4 separate regions of the Homo sapiens genome follow, and all the other regions are linked to region 2. Evidence: promoter capture Hi-C in 16 types of primary human blood cells and fetal thymus (Javierre and others, 2016). All regions are on one chromosome and are shown on one strand. Each heading gives the region's core, a stretch centred on a gene start or on the middle of the fragment in contact. The rest is flanking DNA. Distances are from core to core; before and after follow the strand shown. Region 1 overlaps IKZF1 (IKAROS family zinc finger 1). Region 2 holds the start of UPP1 (uridine phosphorylase 1). Region 3 overlaps SPMIP7 (sperm microtubule inner protein 7). Region 4 has its middle 15 kb from the start of IKZF1.

Region 1 (3,014 bases), core at 311-2,810, 2.2 Mb before region 2:
CTGTGCACTTGTGAGAATATACCTCTAAGGTAAGTTCTTCAATGCAAAATTGATATTTGTATTTATACCATTTTTGTTTATATAGATAATCACAAACTTTTGGACACATTTTCACTTTTACCAACTGTACCATGAAGTGCCTGAATACCACATTCTAAAAGTTAAAAAGCCACATGTTCTCACTCACATGTGGAAACTAACAAATGCTGCTGTCATCATTATAAGTAGAAAGTAGGACAGAGGCTAATAGAGGCTGGAAAGGTCGGGGGAGTGGAAGATAGGGAGAGATTTGTTAAAGGAGACAAAATTACAGCTAGGTAGGAAGAATAAGTTCTAGTGTTCTACACCATTGCAGGATGACTGTAGTCAACAATAATATATAGTTTCAAATAGCTAGAAGGAAGATGTCGAATGTTCCTAATACAAAGAAACGATAAATGTTTGAGATGATGAATATGCTGATTTACCTGATCCGATTACTATACATTGTATATATCACAACATCACTATGTACCCAATTATTTTGTGTCTATGTACACAATTATTTTGTGACGATTAAAAAAATTAAAAATTAAGTGAAAATATTCAATGATATACAAAAAGAGAATTATATAATTCTCATTCATGAGAATTATATTTAAGATATAAATGTGAGAATTACACAAAGAATGTGGCAATTATATTGTAATAAATACGAAGCCTCACTCTAAAAGAAAAATAAGCTAGCCTTTTGTTTGTTCTTTGCACCTGGGAGAGTTTAAGTCCAAAATCTGAAACATGAATAGAGCGGCTGAGGAGTGGTGGAGAAGGAAGCCTGTGATTGGCAGATCTATCTCCAGTTCCATGGAACTCAGAAGATCCTCTCCTGCACCTTCCCCAGGGAAACCACCAAGCAGGGGAGCAGCCACACATAGGTCCTGGTCTTCATCAGGAGCACCAACTTGTAGAATCCCATAGAAACTTCAAAACACGAGGGCGCTCAGCCAAGGCAAGGTGCCACTGAGAACTTTCTCAAATATAAGTCAGCCTCTGGGGCTGGCTGTGAGTCTGTGAGGCTCAAAAATATGAAATACCGAAAACCCCAAAGTCCATGAAAGCTGCTACTGGGGCTGACGCCTCTGGATACAGGGCCAGATAGAAAGCTGTCTTCCTATGTCCATGCACTGGGGAACTGTGCGGTTTTGTTGGACTGGCTCGCCGTCCACCCTCAGTGCTGCCAAATGGTCACAGTCTGTGACCTACCCTTAGGCTTTTCCTACTACAGACTTCTCCACTTCCTGGGTCTCCTGGATGAGAAGAGCTATATCCAATACGGCTTGAAAAGATATATGGCAAAGGGGAGCAATGTTGTGTCCATGCTTAATGAACAAACAGTCATGACTGTGCCCAACAATTATGTTTTTCAAGCTTCTCTCTCTCTCTCTCTTTAAGTACCATCATTGGCATGTGTTTGGGTTTTAAACCAATCAGCCATTTTTCCTTCCAACAGTACAAAAATGTATTTAACTCTTCCCGTTTTTTTTTCCTGAAGTTTAACAGTAAAACTAATTTCATCTTGGAGGCTTTCTGTTCAGCTCAAAGTGAGATAATTTGTAACAGGTGAAGGAAACACTCAGGCAAATTCCATCATGGTCTTTTCTTTTGCAGAATAGCCCCTATTCCTCCCCCATGAGCATACCAAGCACTGTGACTTCCGGCCCCAGGGAAGCTTTTCTCATGAACTTCCCACACAGCTATCTCATAAGGTCTCACCTGAAACTTGGGACATGTCTTGACCCTCATCAGCATCCATGGTCCTCAGGTTATCTGAGAAAGAGAGGAAGGGATTTTAGTTTAAAGCAAAAATACTAATAAGATATGAGAAAGAGAGAGAGATAAAGAACCCCTATGCTATTTAACAACAAGGTTATCTAGCAAGAATAATGCATTTTCCTCCTCACATACTTGCTGGAGTATCAGACTGGCACAGACCTTGATCCTTTTAAAAACAGCATTACAAAGATTTATAAAAATATCATTACAAGCACAGGAGGACCAAATTTGTTATTTATTGTTAATTTCCTACTGCATAATAACCCAAAATGCAAACTGACTGCAACAAAATTAAGCAGAAAATTAAATGGCCCTGGGTCATTGTAGGCACAGAATTCATTCTCTTGGCTGATCCATAGTTATGTTCTTTCTAATTTACTGAGCATGCATCGATGAACCTTGAGTCAGCTTGGTGACACGCGTACAATCAGCAATCAAAAAACGAAGCAATTTGCTGAAGAATGTCTCATTTACCCAGGCAGGGCTGCATATCTGAGCAGCAACTGCACTACCTCCATCAATAATGAATACACCTCCAGCCTGGCAGATGGGCAATGCGGGCGCTCCTGTCTTTGTCCCTCAATCTTTCTGGGCCCTTGCCTCAGCCTTCACCAGCACTCTTACACGGGGAGAAGTGACGCTCACTACGGCAGCAAAACGAGCCCAGGAGACAGCCCGAGCCTTCCTGTTTTGCTGACAGATGGCTGGCTTCTCAGATCGGTTTAAATTAAAAAAAAAAAAGAAAAGAAAGAAACAACTGGGAAGATGCTGCCCTTCGATGACCATAGTGAATGTTCCACAGAGTGTACTACGAGCCACAAACACCAGGGAGAGAACCCCAGCATCAGTGGAGTAGAAACAAAAAGGTGTTCTGTGTTTTCGCACTTGGGTCCTGGCCTGCCGCTCGGCAGTCTCAGGTGCCCCAAAGTGGATGACAGCTGGCAGCTCCACAGATAAGAAAGCTATGGCCAGCAGAAGGTGACCTCAAGGAAATCTGCTCATTTATGCTCTGGTATATGACTTTCAGGAGAGCTCCTTCACTAACCAGAAAATGCAGTCTATTTGTTGACTCTAAACCAGGTTGTCCCCCTGTCCCCCTTTTTATTTTTGGCCACCTCTGTCTCTGGTTCAGATGTGTGGATCTGAGCTGTGGCCTGCTTTCAGCAGAGACCTGAAAAACTGATGGATGATTCAGGGATCTT
Region 2 (3,010 bases), core at 219-2,718:
CAGATGGGCAAACAAACTGAAAGGCGGGAGAGACAAAGGCCTGCCCTGGGAATGGCTCAGCAGCGCTTGTAGAAATCCAGAGTAAGACATTCTTTCTATTCAAGGAAGTCACAAAGTTTTTTAAAGACCCGCGGTTACAGCCAATGAATGGAACCAATGGTCTTTTTAACCAGAAGACCCCAGGAAGGCAGAAAATGAGCCAAAGAAAGGCCAGGCAGGGGACAGTGGGGAAAGGAAACAGGGATGGAGAAGCAGAGAGGGAAGTGCAGAGACAGGTCACCCAGGCGCCTGGAAACTGCCTCTATGGCCTTCACGGGAAACGGCCTCTTTCTACTCCGGATCCCAGACTGTGTTTCTTTGAAACTGACCGTCAGAGGAGAGCGGCTGGAGGCGGACAGACGTCTGCAGTGGGAGGCGCTCCAGGCGTTCCAGGCAGTGTCCTGCCGGCGAGTCACCCGCGACCGCGAGTCACCTCACCAAGCCCTGAATTGGGACAGGAGACGAGACGTGTCGACGAGCTGCGGAGTTCCTCGCTTCTCTGGGCCCTGCCAGGTCCAAGAACAGGTTGCCATATAAAAGAATCGTGAAGGGACCCCCTTCCCCATGCAAATTATGTCATATAACGCATATGCCTGTGAAGTTTCTCTGCGGAGCTGCCAGATAACTCGATGACAATATTTTATGCGGTAACATTTTGTTAAATGTTGACTCGATGGCCACTTGACGCCATCTGAACTCTGAAAGCTCGCGTAACAATCATCCTCCAAATGAAATTTTACCCCCTTCTCCCTTTAAAAGGCGGTGGGGACAAAACATCACTTCGTCACTTAAGTCACCATCTCCTTCCTCTTATCTGGGGCTCCCAGCATAGTTCTAGGGGTTCCCGCACTCCCCGCCCGGGTTTGGGCTGCGAGAAGCGCCCGCCTGCGCCCTGCGGGACCTGACCCTGCCGGCTCTGGCTTCACCCTCGCTGCGCCTCGGCCCGGTGGGCTCCCCGCCCAGAGCCCCGCGCGCTCCGTCGCCGGGACGTGGGAGAGGTAGGCACGGGGTGGACCCGAGGAAGCACATCCCGCCCGCGCGCTTCCCCCACGCCCACCTCGCTCCGCACACACCAGCCCCAGAACCTCCCGGCCGCGCGCCCGCCTCCCCGCGCAGCCGCGCCGGGCCGCTCTCTGCTCCTCTGCAGCTCACAGCCAAGGTGCACCAGAGCCTCCGTCACCGCCCCTACAGGTAAATGGGCACGTGGCCAAGGCAGGGGACGGGCTAGACCCCTGGGAAGAGAGAACGGCGGGAGCCGGGCCGCGGGCGACTCACCACTCGGCCTGCGCAGAGAGCCGCTACACCCGCGGCGCCATCCTCGCACTGCGACACCGGCGACAAACGCAATGCTCCAGGGCCGGACGAAGGGACGGCTCTCGGGAGGCTCGCAGACGGCGGGGCGCGGGTCTGTGCGCCGGAGCACTCGAATGAGGGAACCACCTGCGAGGTGAATCTCATATGGAGTCTGCGAGCGGCCCCGCCCTGCCCGGGGGTTACCGCTAGGCTCGGGCCCCGCCTGCCCTGGGCCGGCGAACTCAGCTGACCGCATCCTGGGCCATCCCGCAGACAAGCCCCGCCCGCCCCCACCTTCCTCTGCCCCTCTGGCCCCGCCTCCCCCGCCTTCCTCCTCTCCACCCTCCCGCGAAGGTCCCGGGAGGCTCAGCCCGCAATTGCTTCTCGCCTCTGCAGAGCAGCTGGGCAATTGTAAAGAACCAGCAGCCAGTTCTGTTACTCATTAAACAGCCCCTACTACAGAGGAAATCTTCTTACCCACGTGGTCCTAACCTGGGGCGGAGGAAACCGGGCTAGAAGCGGCTCTAGGACTAACCCAAGGTCACGCCGCCAGGCAGGATCCCCGGTCTGTCTGTCTGGCGGTGGCCCCGCGGCTGGGGCCAGCGGAGAGAAATGACAGCGTGGAACCAGCCCTGGCCCGGTGGTCGGGAATGTGGAGCTGGCACTGTCACTGTGTGTACCCTGGATCTCTCTGGACGGCCTCGGCTTCCCCCCTGGGGAGTTTCTCTGGGACCTTCCTGATCCTGGGAGTTCCCGCTTGCTGGGGCAAAGCCAGGAGCTCGCCCGAGGAGGGGAAGTGACTCATTCACTTCGAGTCGCAGCTAAGTGGCCGAACTGCCTCAAACCGGCGCTGCACTCTGACCCCCAGGGGCCGGACCTGCCTGCCCCCGGCCGGTGCCCACTCTCCGTCTCAGGCGTCTTTCCTGGTCCTCTCCCTGCTTCCCGAACGCGCACTCTGGTGAGAGCACAGAGCCTGGGAAAGAAGACGACCTAGAGGCCCGGGCAGCCCAGCACCTCTGTTACTTGCTTCCTAAAGGGAACTCCAGTTCCTGAGAAAACATGGGGTTGGGCCGGGAGTGGTGGCTCACGCCTGTAATCCCAGCACTTTGGAAGGCCGAGGCGGATGGATCACCTGAGGTCAGGAGTTCGAGACCAGCCTGCCCAACATGGTGAAACCCCGTCACTACTAAAAATACAAAAAATTAGCTGGACGTGGTGTCGCGTGCCTGTAATCCCAGGTACTAGGCAGGCCGAGGCAGGAGAATTGCTTGAACCCAGCGAAGGATGCAGTGAGCCGAGATCGCGCCATTGCACTCCATACTGGGTGACAAGAGTGAAACACACAAACAAATCAAGGAAGGAATTAAGGGTTTTATTGAAAATGAAAGTACGGCCAGGCGCAGTGGCTCACACCTGTAATCCCAGCACTTTGGGAGGCCGAGGCGGGTGGATTACAAAGTCAGGAGTTCAAGACCAGCCTAACCAAGATGGTGAAACCCCGTCTCTACTAAAAGTAAAAAAAAAAAAAAAACAAAAAAAAAAACCTAGCCGGTCACAGTGGCAGGTGCCTGTAATTCCAGCTACTTGGGAGGCTGAGGCAGGAGAACCACTTGAACCTGGGTGGCAGAGGTTGCAGTGAGCTGAGATCATGCCACTGCATTCCAGCCTTGGTGACACA
Region 3 (3,162 bases), core at 484-2,983, 2.1 Mb before region 2:
AGGGCCAGTGGGCAGATTGCAAATTTCATTCATCTCAGTGGCTTTCACTTGCCATCCTTGGACCTTTCTCTGAGAGCAGGACATCCTTGTGGCATGGTTCCCTATTCAAAATTGGTGCCCAGACAAAATGCAACACAGTAGCAACAAGCAAACCTCTGTGGGTGGTGGAGGAATGGTTCTTCAATGGCTGCCTTGGTTATATCCATGACCTTCCCACACGACCAGTAAGCCACACAAAGCCTTCTCCAGGAACCACTTATCTTAGGAGTAATTTTCAAAATTTGGAGCTTATAGGAGTTGCTCCTGAAAGTATCAGGTGACAAGGCAGGCAGAAGAGAGGTTAGTGAAAGGGGTGTGTGCTTAAGGGTTGGGAGGAAGATTCAGTCCCCGGTTCCCCATGTCATCTCTGGGATCTGGACTGGACATAGTCTTTTGGAGCCTTCTAGCCTCAGCCTGACCCCGGGTAGTGATACCAACCGGAAGGACTTGGGTGAGGGAGAAGTGGAAACGAGAAGGATTCACACTGCAATTTCTTGGTGTCCTTCCCACATTGATTATGTGCAAGTATCAGAATGTTAGGGGGAAAATACATATCAGGCAGGGAATTGCACTAATAAATCTCCTAATTCTCTTCCAGCTGTGTAATTTATGACTCTGTTGGTGATGACTTATTGGCTTGCAGGTGATATAATCAAGGACACCCAGAGACTAACAAAGTGAAGGGAAATTACATCTATGGCAACAGCAGAATAAACAGTACAAAATAACAGATTTTGTGAGACTAGGAAAATAAGGCAGCTAAAGAGTGGGGGCAGCCCACTGCATCGAGAAGCAGGCTTCTGTGGCAAGCCTGACTCTGCCCCTTAACCAACTGTGAGGTTTTACTCCAGTGAAGAAAGCTCTCTGGGCTTCAGCTCGGTCAACTGCAGCATGAAGAGGACAACACTAACCTCTTAGGGGCACTCTGGGGATTAGAGGAGACTTCAATGAATATGAAAACAGCTAGCAAATTGTTAGCACTTAATAGATGCTAAACTAATTTCAGTTGAAATACAGTAATTTAAAGAAATAAAACATTTACAAAATAAGGGCCATGCACATGGGGATTGCAAAGTTTATCCAGTACAGACAGCTGAAAAGATGCTAAGACAGAGGTTCCCAATGGTGCTGCACACTGACATCTCAGAGGCATCTTGAAAGGTACCAATGCCTGGCTCCCACTCCCACATTTTTTTTTTTTTTAGATGGAATCTCGCTGTATTGCCCAGGCTGGAGTACAGTGGCACAATCTCGGCTCACTGCAACTTCCACCTCCTGGGTTCAAGTGGTTCTCCTGCCTCAGCCTCCTGAGTAGCTGCTATTACAGGTGTGCACCACCATGCCCAGCTAACTTTTGTATTTTTAGTAGAGTCGGGGTTTCACCCTGTTGGTCAGGCTGGTCTTGAACTCCTGACCTTGTGATCCACCCGCCTCGGCCTCCCAAAGTGCTGGGATTACAGACGTGAGCCACCGTGCCCGGCCCAGCCCCATATTTTAATGTAACTAGTAAGTGGTGTAGCCTGAGCACTGGGACTTTTGACAGCTCTCCAGATGATTCTCCTGTGCTGCTAAGTTCAGGAGCCTCTGTTTTACAGCCACATTGTCAAGCTTGCTGGAGGGACCTAGGTGAGTGAACTGAAGCTGCTGAATTCTAGGCAGTGCCCTGCAGGATTTTTTGGAATTTTGTTGGAAAAGTGCAGCTGTAAGTTAGAGAGGTAACCCAGAATGAGGCAAAGTTATTCATGCGTGTGTCTCTCCCCCAACCATTCATTAAAGCTTCCATGCATGTTACAAAGGAAATCCCCTCCATCTGTGTGAAAGGTTTTTTCCACTGCCTTTGAAAACACCTGCAGAATTAAAATGCCTCTAAAGTCATATCCTGCCATCAGAGCAGTTAAGAAGTCAGAGGGATGGACGCAGGCCATCTGTCAATCACATGAAAGGCTTGATAAAAAACATTGCACAGCCTCTGTGCCTCTGTGGCATGCATGTTATTGATGCTAAATGGTATCATATGTTACATTGTCTTAATGCTATTAGATTACATCATATTTAATAATAACATTTCATGGAAGATTAGACTGATTAGCTGCTCAGTCTTGGGAATGAATTCAGTTGCATAATAAATTGCCAAATATTTGAAAACGAAAGTCCTCACCCACACTGCTTCTAAATCTACTCCATTTAACCCTGGCACATATGGCCATAACAAGGGGAATTTTGCCATCTTAAGTGCAACACAGCGACCTTATATTAAGAGGAGAATACTCTCTGGGGAACACTTTAGACTGCTGCTGATAGGAGATATTATTTTTCAGCTGGAGGGAACAAAGCTATTAAAGATACTGAAACATACAAGCCGGGAAATGGATTTCCAGGTTAGTCGCATGTTCAAAGAATTCCACTCCCCATTTGAGGAAAGTAGAGAGACGCAGAGACCCACTTAAAAATAAGAAGTCTTCATTTTTGCCTTTGCTCCACAGCTTCTAGTCCTTTAAATACCTTATTTTGTACTCCCTAGTTCCAAATAAGCCAGGATTTTGTTCACTAATTGATAAATTTGAATATATTATTGCCCAAGTCTACAATGAATTGGTTCTCAACCAAACATGATAAAATAGAAATTAAGTAATTTAAGAAAATCAAGAAGTTTAGTAACTCAGAAGAAGGGAGCACAGATGGTATATAAGTTAAATATGAGAGGAAAAATGTGGAGAAAACCATGTTATACGTAGAATATATGTATTGTATATGTGCATAAAATTTAGGCATGCATAGAAATTCTCACTCTACACTGTAAACATGACTAATAGTCATTGAGTATGTTCTATATTCCAGGCACCCTTTTAAATGCTTGATGTAAATTGACTGTTTAATTCTCACAACAATCTTGTGTCATAGGTCCTATGATCATGTCCATTTTATAGATGGAGAAACTGACACAGAGAAAGTCTAAGTATCATGGCCAGCACCAACCAAGCTGGCAAGTGGTAGAACTGGACCTCAGTGCAACTGAACTGAATAGGAAGGACCATTGGCATTACTCCCAGCCCAGCCAGGAGAGCCTCATTAGCTCACAGTGGGCTGCAATTATACAGGGTGGGGTGTAAGTGCAGGTTCAAA
Region 4 (3,538 bases), core at 149-2,648, 2.2 Mb before region 2:
GCGTGAGGCCTTTTACTTCATAACCTCAAGAAATACATGCACAGATAACTAATTGTATATGAAAATACATGTATTTAACATTTAACATATGTGTGTTTAACATTCACTAGAATGAGGTTCATAGAAGGAAGAATTGAAAACTGAATGCTCATCCCAAATGAAATAGTATTTGATATATTCCCACAAATGAATATTTTGGAGCTATCAGTAGATGACTTATGTCTATTTTCTAAGATGAAAAGATATCCACTATGCATAGTAGACTGAAAATGAAAATTGCAGGATTGTTTTAAGCATTTTACATATCTCTCATACATAGACCTGAAGGCTATTCACTAAACTATTAACGTTGCCAGCAGGTAAGAGGTTCTTGAGTGATTTATATTTTCTTCTTAATAATTTTCTATATTCCCTGACTGAGCTACATTATCACTTATTACTAATTGTATTATAGGTGTATTAGTCAGTTCTCATGCTGCTAATAAAGATATAACCAAGACTGGGTAATTTATAAAGGAAAGAGGTTTATTTCACTCACAATTCAGCATGGCTGGGGAGGCCTCAGGAAACTTACAATCATGGCAGAAGGGGAAGCAAACAAGTCCGATTTCACATAGCAGCAGGAGAGAGAAGAATGAGCAAACGGGGAAAAGCCAAACCATCAGATATTGTAAGAACTCACTCACTATCATGAGAACAACATGAGGGTAATCACCCCCATAATTAAATTATCTCCCGCCGGGTCCCTCTCACAACATGTGGGGATTATGGGAACTGCAATTCAAGATGAGATTTGGGCAGGGCGGGGCAGGGGGGCGGGCACAGCCAAACTGTATCAACAGGTCTCCAGAGAACAGAACCAATAGAATACATATAGGTGTGGATACTGACATAGATCTATAGAGATTTATTATGAGGTAATTTGTTCACATGATTATGGAGACTGAGAAGTCCTATGATCTGCCATCTGCATGCTGGGGGCTGAGAAAACCTGGTGGTGTAGATTCTATTCCAAGCCTGAAGGCCTGAGAACCAGGAGCACGTCAATATCCGAGGGCAGGAGAGGATGGATGTCCAAGCTTAAGCACCAGTGGGCAGGGCAGGGGATGGGGGGATTGTGGGGAGAGAGAGAGAGAGAGAGAGATGACATATAACATTAATCATTGCAGTAATACTTAATATTATCAATAAGCCTACGTACATTATGAAAATGTAGTTGAGATAACTCACTTGACTTGCTTCATAGAATTAAAAAAGTGTTAATAAGAACTTAAATTTGGTCAAAATTATGTTGGAAACTAATAATTGATTCATTTTTGAAGGGAAAGGAAAATACATAATAAGCAAAGGCTGTTTAGAAAATTGAATTAAATCTAAGAGATAACTGAGTCCAAAAATGTTAGATGCAATTTTAATAGCCATTAACTTTACTGGGAAATTGAAAGACTGGGCTTACTGTAAAACAGTAACTACAAGTCAGACTTATACAAAGTTTAGAAAAACTCATAAATATGATTCCAAAAGCATTTATGATGAAACTATCCTATATCTTGAACCCCAAGCTATAACACATAACTGTGGAGGTCAAATTAAGTTGAAAAAGAAAAATAATGTACATTTGCAGCCAATAAGCCAAATTAAATACTCTCCAAGAACACAGGGTGAAGGTGAGAAACATTACAACATTCTCTCTGCCCCGTATAGAACAAAAGCTTAAAACATGGATTAATTCTACCTTTAGACAATGTAAACACCGATTTCTGAAATAAAATGAACTAGTAAAACTAATTTAAATCATGCCTTTGAAGCATTTATTGTCTCTTTTATTGTGGTAAAATACACATAACATAAAGCTTACCGTCATAACCTTTTTAAAGTATACAATTCAGTGGCATTAAGTACATTCACAATGTTGTGCAACCATCACCACTATTTCCAGAACTTGTTCATTCCAATGCCCATTAAGCAGTCACTCCCATTTTCTGCTGCCCTCAGCCCCTGGCAGCAACTAGTCTGTTTTCTGTCTCTATTAATTTGCCTGTTCTGGATATTTTATACAAATGGGGGCATATACTTTTTGGCCTTTTGTCTGTGGCTTCCTTTATTTAGTATAAGTTTTTGAAATTAACCTATATTGTAGCATGTATCAGTATTCCATTCTGTTTTATAGTGGAGCAATTTCCGCTATATGAATATATCACATTTGGTTTACCCATTCGTCTGTTGATGAATATTTAGGTTGGTTCTACCTTTTGGCTACTGTGAACAGAGCTGTTATAAACATTCATGTACAAGTTTTTGCTCAAACACCTGTTTTGAATTCTTTTGGGTATATACCTAGGAGTGGAATTGCAGGACCACATTGTAATTCATTTTAATTCCTTCCAGCAATATATGAATATTCTGATTTCTCCACATCCTTACCAACACCCATTATTTTCTTTTTTTTTTTGAATTATAACCATTCTAGTGACTGTAAAGTGGTTTTAATTTGCATTTTCCTAATAACTAATGTCATGGAGGATCTTTTAATGTGCTTATTGGCCACTTGTATATCTTGGGAGAAATGATAGGCAAGTCTTTTGCCCATTTTTAAATTGGATTGTCATTTTGTTGTTGAGTTGTAAGTGTTCTTTAATATATTCTGGATATTTTATATCTTCTGAATATGTACTTGGCTTTATACATTCTAGTATAGAGAATCATATCAGATATGTGGTTTGCAAAAGCTTTCTCCAATTCTGTGGGCTGTCTTTTCACTCTCTTGATAGTGGCATCAATGCACTACAGGTTTTAATTTTGATGAAGTTCAGTTTATCTTTTTTTTTTATTTTGTTGAGTGTGCTTTCCGTGTCATATTTTAATGTCATTTTAACTGCATTTTGAAGTAGTCAAATGTTTTGATAAGAGTAACCTCAGTATGTTTTATAATCTACGACTATTTCCTTAAATATTTTCCCCAAAATATTTCAAATTAAAATGTCTGTTTTCAGATTTGTTGTTGTTAAAAAAATGCATGTGCTTAATCTGTTTAGTGAAAATGGAGCTTTAGGGTAAAATTAGGAAAGTGCAGATATTTTATGGTTTTTGTTTTCTTAAAAAAATTGTGACCTAAAACCTAAAAGCCTTCATGTGGGGAAATGAAATGTATACTAGAATTGGAAAGAAAGTGACCAAAAATTATCTGTGAAGGATGAGTTTGTTCATTGCAGTTGGCCCAATGGCTTACATTCTATTATACCCAAGGAATTGGAAGATGTTATTTGCTGAGCCATTACTTCTTCATTGAAGAGAGGAAATAAAAAAATAGTCACCAACTTTAAAAAGAGATTCTGGATGATTCTAAAAATGATAAGGTGGTTTCAATTCATAAGCTATAAGATAAGTAATCAACTGGATTGCTAGTGACAAACCAAATATTTAAATTAATTTTGGTTTTCATTTTGTAAAATAAGGACAAAATTTTAGTTTTGGAGAAAATTGATCTAAAATAAAAGCCAACAAGGAAGGGTTACAACGATTTCATGAGAAACAAGGT

The links. The method cuts DNA at HindIII sites, captures the fragments that hold promoters and counts their contacts. A CHiCAGO score of 5 or more calls a contact.
Region 1: a fragment that was not itself captured here is called in contact with the fragment with the promoter of UPP1 in region 2 in 2 of 17 cell types (total CD8 T cells and non-activated CD4 T cells); the score reaches 7.9 in total CD8 T cells.
Region 3: a fragment that was not itself captured here is called in contact with the fragment with the promoter of UPP1 in region 2 in 1 of 17 cell types (non-activated CD4 T cells); the score reaches 5.6 in non-activated CD4 T cells.
Region 4: a fragment that was not itself captured here is called in contact with the fragment with the promoter of UPP1 in region 2 in 1 of 17 cell types (activated CD4 T cells); the score reaches 6.0 in activated CD4 T cells.

Annotation. Positions count from the first base shown.
Region 1 is chr7:50,317,840-50,320,853 of GRCh38, reverse strand. It overlaps IKZF1 (IKAROS family zinc finger 1), which reads right to left. Exons shown (of 8, transcript NM_006060.6): 2 at 1,753-1,806. The coding sequence starts at 1,792. Among named protein-coding and RNA genes, the nearest start is that of IKZF1, 15 kb to the right of the region's middle. RefSeq lists enhancers at 2,039-2,150, 2,399-2,448, 2,459-2,528. The HindIII fragment of the contact is 301 bases long and covers 1,410-1,710 here.
Region 2 is chr7:48,087,723-48,090,732 of GRCh38, reverse strand. It overlaps UPP1 (uridine phosphorylase 1), which reads right to left and starts at 1,468. Exons shown (of 9, transcript NM_003364.4): 1 at 1,315-1,468; 2 at 369-545. RefSeq lists silencers at 904-1,093, 1,434-1,773 and enhancers at 874-1,403, 1,914-2,123, 1,936-2,465. The HindIII fragment of the contact is 3,480 bases long and covers 1-3,010 here.
Region 3 is chr7:50,147,224-50,150,385 of GRCh38, reverse strand. The region is part of intron 7 of SPMIP7 (sperm microtubule inner protein 7); the gene reads right to left. Among named protein-coding and RNA genes, the nearest start is that of SPMIP7, 53 kb to the right of the region's middle. The HindIII fragment of the contact is 168 bases long and covers 1,650-1,817 here.
Region 4 is chr7:50,287,615-50,291,152 of GRCh38, reverse strand. No RefSeq gene overlaps it. Among named protein-coding and RNA genes, the nearest start is that of IKZF1, 15 kb to the left of the region's middle. The HindIII fragment of the contact is 633 bases long and covers 1,082-1,714 here.